2 separate regions of the Homo sapiens genome follow, and region 1 is linked to region 2. Evidence: promoter capture Hi-C in human tissues and cell types (Jung and others, 2019). All regions are on one chromosome and are shown on one strand. The core of a region is centred on a gene start or on the middle of the fragment in contact, and the rest is flanking DNA. Distances in the headings are between cores, read along the strand shown. Region 1 has its middle 93 kb from the start of NMNAT3. Region 2 holds the start of CLSTN2 (calsyntenin 2).

Region 1 (2,717 bases), core at 144-2,643, 160 kb before region 2:
GTTAACTTTGAATCTTAGAAAACTCTGTCTGTCAGCAATGTGGAGGGTGGCTTGAAAAAAAGGAGGGCCTCGGAGGCAGGAAGAACTATTAAGAAACTATTAGGGTGGTCCAGGTCAGAAAACAGGAGGCAGGGGTTGGATTGGAGCTGACAGACATATTTGAGAGCATGAGTGAGGTCAAAGCTGGAAGATTTGGTGTGGGATAGGACATGGTGTTAGAGGAAGGATGTGTCTGATAGTGCTCAGTCTTTGATCTGGGCTCCCTGATCCATATTCTGCAGGTTCCAGGTTGGGAGAGGAGATTCTGTTAAGCAGATGTGAGGGTGTCCAGGAATATACACTCTTAGGATTTTGCTTAGAGAGAAGCCTAGGCTGGAGAGGAGTACTGGGTATATTCAGTGATGATGGACAGTTGGAGCCGCGCAGGTGAAGGGGAGCCTCCGAAGTTGATGTATGAAATGAGAGAAGCAGAAGCAGTGGATGGAGCCCTGTGAAACATTAACATTTAAGGTTACAGCAGCGCCAAGGCAACTAACCCTGATTTCATGCTGTTTGCCCTCCCCACTAAACATCTTTATAACCAGTGGATGTCAAAGACTCCTACCCCAGAGGAGAAAGCCTCAGCTAGAGAAGTGGAATCATGGGTTGGGTGAGCAGAATGGGACAAATATGTAAGCAAGAAACTGAGGAAGGAAGTGAGAGAAAAATTCTCCCCCATGCCTGTCTCCCACAGATATTTTATGCATGATATAATAAATGTGTGTGTATATATGTGTATCTACACACACAAGCACACACATTTATATACATATACACACATACATAAAACATATATCTGGATAACTTTCTTTTTTTTTTGAGACGGAGTCTCACTCACTGCAAGCTCCACCTCCCGGGTTCATGCCATTCTCCTGCCTCAGCCTCCCAAGTAGCTGGGACTACAGTCGCCCGCCACCACGCCCGGCTAATTTTTTTTTTTTTTGCATTTTTCAGTAGAGACGGGGTTTCACCGTGTTAGCCAGGATGGTCTTGATCTCCTGACCTTGTGATCTGCCCACCTCGGCCTCCCAAAGTTCAGGGATTACAGGCATGAGCCGTCGCACCCGGCCTGGATAACTTTCAACATCGGCACATAAAGAGTTCTTGCATTGTTTTCGCAGTTGCATACATTCCCTTGCGTGTATATACCATAATTTATTTAGCCCAATCTGCTATTGATGGATATATAAGTTGTCCGAGCTTCTGCTACCAAAACAATGCTGCAACAAATGATTTGGCTGCATTATGTTGCTGTGTGCATGTATACCGGTGGGATAGATTTCTAGAAGAGGAAGAGCTGTCAGCATTTCCAGTTTCGATACATATGGTTGATCTGCTCTCCATTACTAGTGTGCCGATTTCTACTTCTCCCTGTAGTGCCCAAGAGTTCCTGTTCCTCACACTCTAATCAGCACAATGTGTGATCAAACTTTGTGATCTTTGTCAATTCAATAAGTGAGATACGGCATTATAAGTTTCATTTTGCATTAAAAAATATAAATGAGGCTGAACACCATTTTAAATGTTCAAGAGCCATTTCCTCTAAAATGTTCCTAGACCTTACCCTTTTTCCTGACTTTTTGCAGTTTGTTTTGGTCTTTTTTCTTCCTGATTTCTGGGGTATTATTTTATATTAACAAATTAGCTTATTGAGTGATAAAAATGCAAATAGTTTTACCCATTTACACTTCGTTTTTTGACTTTATTCTTGCTAAGTTCCCTGCAGTACCCAGCAAGGGGCTGGACCATCAGCTATACTCAGCTGAGGTAGAGGAAGCCAGAGAAGTTTGGAGGTTCAGACTGAGCCAAAGAATAGAGTAGGTGAATTCTTGTTAGTATTCGCTTCCAAGTATTCTCTGGGAGCAAACTGTCACGTGAATGCTGCAGACAGGCAGCCACAGTGTGTGTGTCTTGGTAGGGGCAGGGGAGGTGAGCTGTGTTTATTTAGCCTCTTACAGAACACTCTCCAGGCCCACCACCCTTGGAGCCAAGTGAAATCAATATCTTTGAAATGGACTGAGACAAGTAGGGTCATAGCCTCAAGTTCTGGGCCAGAAATAGCAGGGCACAGTCTTAAGACAAATCTTATGGGGGTGGCTGTGCAGGCAAAATGGACAGGTGACAGCTGGAGGTGCAGGTGGGTGGCAGGTGATTTGTTTGTTACCATTGACAGCCCACATTTGTCACTGTTCACCATGAGCCAGGACCTGGGGACACAGGATCTTGCCTTCGAGGAATTCACAGATCAGGTGAGTGAACAGAGGATGGCAGAACTGTGTGATGCGAACTGGTAGAGATAGCACGGGGAGTTGGGAGCCCCAAAGACAGCAGTGCAATCTGCATGGAGAAGTCCAGGAAGGCTTCCTGGATGAGGTTGCATCTAAGCAGAGTCCTGAAAGACAAGTATGAGTTAGCCAGTCAAAGAAGAGTGCATGAAGGGAGATGTACCAGGTGGAAAGAACGTTTAGGGTAAAGTGCTAGACGGGAGAAGAAAAATGGTTCCTTCAGAAAATTGGAAGTGTTTCAGTGTAGCTGGAGGGCAGGGTTCCAGGAAGATGGATGGAGGTGACAAAACATGCCACTGAGGAGGTAGATTAGGACAGGTCATGAAGGGTAGTGTGGAGCAGAGACGGGGAGAAGCATTGAGAAATGTTCCACAGGCAGAATCAGCAGGACGA
Region 2 (2,901 bases), core at 83-2,582:
TATTAATTAGAGGATGCTGTTTAGGCACTCTTGCAATATATACATTTTGTTAATTGATTTGTATAGGCTCATAGCTAGCAACATAAAGAATGTGCAGGACCATAACACTTACAAGGGATTGTAATTGCCTTTGCTGCCCTCTCTGGCTCCCCAAGCAGGGAACAAAAGCTTTGAGGATAGGACCCACTCTCTCCTCTGTCTTTGGATCTCCAACGACTAATCCAGTGCTCACTGTCAGGGTGATACAGCCTGTCTAGATGCTCAGCAAACGTCTTGAATCAATGACTAAATAAATAATATTGTTTGTTTCTGTATTTCCATATCTACTTTATTTCCAAACTATTCCTCATAAACCCTGCATTGTGTGTGATGTTGGCATTTCATTTAGGTAAATATGGTCAAGGATTTATTCTGAGTCCTTACTGTTTTTTTTTTTTTTTTTTTTGAGTACCTTTGTAATTTTTTCACGGCCTAGAGATGGTTGAGGATGCAAAGATATGCACTGGCTCCTGCACTCAGGGAACTGACAATACTCAACGGCACGAGATTTTACAATGCATGACGTCAAGTAGCCTGTTCTTAGAGATGCGGAGTGACAACATAAAGGTGGCAACTTCTTGCATGGCACCATACCGCAGGGAATTTTAAGTTTGACACCCCGCCCCCGCCACTGCAGCCTCAGCAGGCCCAGCACCCCAAGTTTTCTGATCTAGCTGTTCTATCAGCCTCTAAGAGCCGCGGCTGCCCCTGCTTCTCGGAGATGACGCGGAGCCCTGCCATTGCCATCCAGGTCCAAGGCTATCTACTCTGCCCGACAACCCCTAGCACCACTAGGCGCTGCTCTAGTGTGCGCCTGGCGCCCTCCCCAGACCAGTCGACGCAGAACGCCCAGAGACCCAGCCAAGGGCAAGACCCTTAGCGACGCCCGTCAGTCCTCTCCGCCCAGATATCAGTTCAAAGGGCATGGCAGGTCAGGGTCCCTCGCGCCACCCCAGATGACCCTCAGGCCTCGGGTGGCCACTTTCTGGGGGAGCCCTCCATCCCTTGCGGCAGCTTTTCCGAGAGTCGGAGTGGAGGCGCGGGGCTGGAGGGCTCTCCGGAGCCGCCCACCAGGGTCCTCTGGGGGCCCGGTCCCGACTGGGCAGGGGGACCTGGACAGGGCCCCGGAGCGTGGAGACGGCTGAGGAAAGTTGGGGGTCGGGGCCTTGGGGCGGGGAGCGCGGAACCCGGCGCCGATGCCCGCGTTCATGAATATGCACGAGCCACCTCCCTCCCTCCGTGACGTCACGGGCCGTCCCGGGGTGAGCGCCTGAGCCGCTCCGGGTCCGCGCCAGTGAGCGCGGCTGCTGCCGGCGAGCTAGCGGCGCAGCGGCGGGAACCCGAGGCCGAGCGCCGCGGCGGCAGCGCTAGAAGCGCACCCATCGGGCACGGCGAGGCGGCCCACGGTGCGGCAGGCACCGGGAGGCGAGAGCCGGCGCGGACAGTAGGCGGCGGCTGCAGCTCGTTGGCGGCTGCTGCGAGGATGCTGCCTGGGCGGCTGTGCTGGGTGCCGCTCCTGCTGGCGCTGGGCGTGGGGAGCGGCAGCGGCGGTGGCGGGGACAGCCGGCAGCGCCGCCTCCTCGCGGCTAAAGGTGGGTGCTGGGGAAGTTTGCTCTTCTCCCAGGAGGGAGGCAGGGCAGGCTTGAGGGTGAAAGCGGCAAGGACCTAGGCTCAAGCTGGATTTGCCCACCCTCCCTTGCCGCAGCTTCTTTGGCCTCTGTGCGCCCTGGATTCCCGAAGTCAGTTCCCTGCGCAGCGGACCAGAGAGGTCCACCCGCGGACGTCAACTCAACCCCTGGGCGGGGTCCGGGGGCTGAGCAGAAGGCGAGGTCTGGGGAGTACGGACAACTTTGAGGGCTGTCTGTGCCGGGGTGGGAGCGCAGTGGGTGAGTTTCGAGCTCTGGCCCAGGGACGGCTAGAGCAGGGCGCTGGCGCGCCGTGGGGACAAGCAGGTGTCTGCTCCTGCCTGGGGGAAGGATCAGCGGCGGTGCTTTCAAGGAGGGAGCCGAGCTGTGACTTGTCTCCCAGCTCGGGGATGGAGTGGAAACTTGTAGGCTCCAGGGAAGGCCCCGCTGACACTCCTCAAGCTCCCCCAGGGCGTCTCTGACTCCCCGGGGAACGTGTACCCTCCGGGTAGGCGGCGGGGTCCGGAAGAAGCGCGGGATGTGAGGCTCCCCGCTGCCTTTCCTACTCCGCTCTGACTACCGAGGACCGAGGAGCCTAACCTGGCACCACTCCCCTGCCCACCCTGTTCCTTTGAAGAGCTTGACCTCCCCGCGCCTCCCGCCCGGAAGGAAGCTAGATCCAAGCGAACGCCTGGCTCTGTCAGGCGAGCCTGGAAGCCGGCGAACCCCGGACTTTGACAGCTGCCTGGGAGCGTCGGGAGCTCTGGGGTGGGGGGCCGGGTCTGAAACAGGAGGTCACGTGCTTGCAGGGGGTGGGGAGGCGAGGGAAGAGCAGAGCTGGTGGGGAACAGTGGTGGGCTCAGGGGAGGCTGTGGCAGATCCTAGCTGGGGCGCACAGCTTAGTGATAACTTGTTGATTCTCTGCGCTGTTCATAAGTAGGGCTTGCGTTTGGTTTGTGGACTGTGGCCAAATCCGCCAGGTGACAATGAGGGGTACTTGGTCCCCAAATCCTGCCTGGCAATCATCAGAGGGCGGAGGGGTTTGCGCCTGTCAGAAAATAGATTCCCTGTTAGAGACAGCCTGATTCGGACGCTTGCTTTGAGCTACACTTGACCACTAGCTTAGGGGAGGAAATGCCTATCAGGCTGCATTACTCTTGGAGGTTGGGGAGAGCTGGAGGCAGGCAGTTCGCCTTGTCTGGGCTTTAGAAACTGGCCCTCCAATAACTTAGGAGTG

Evidence for each region. The method cuts DNA at HindIII sites, captures the fragments that hold promoters and counts their contacts. A contact is called where the count stands out against the background at its distance.
Region 1: a contact is called between a fragment that was not itself captured here and the fragment with the promoter of CLSTN2 in region 2, in 2 of the 25 tissues and cell types used here (H1 embryonic stem cells and heart left ventricle).

Annotation. Positions count from the first base shown.
Region 1 is chr3:139,769,438-139,772,154 of GRCh38, forward strand. No RefSeq gene overlaps it. Among named protein-coding and RNA genes, the nearest start is that of NMNAT3, 93 kb to the left of the region's middle. The HindIII fragment of the contact is 6,358 bases long and covers 1-2,717 here.
Region 2 is chr3:139,933,853-139,936,753 of GRCh38, forward strand. It overlaps CLSTN2 (calsyntenin 2), which reads left to right and starts at 1,333. Exons shown (of 17, transcript NM_022131.3): 1 at 1,333-1,631. The coding sequence starts at 1,523. RefSeq lists silencers at 1,331-1,380, 1,421-1,480. The HindIII fragment of the contact is 4,702 bases long and covers 1-2,901 here.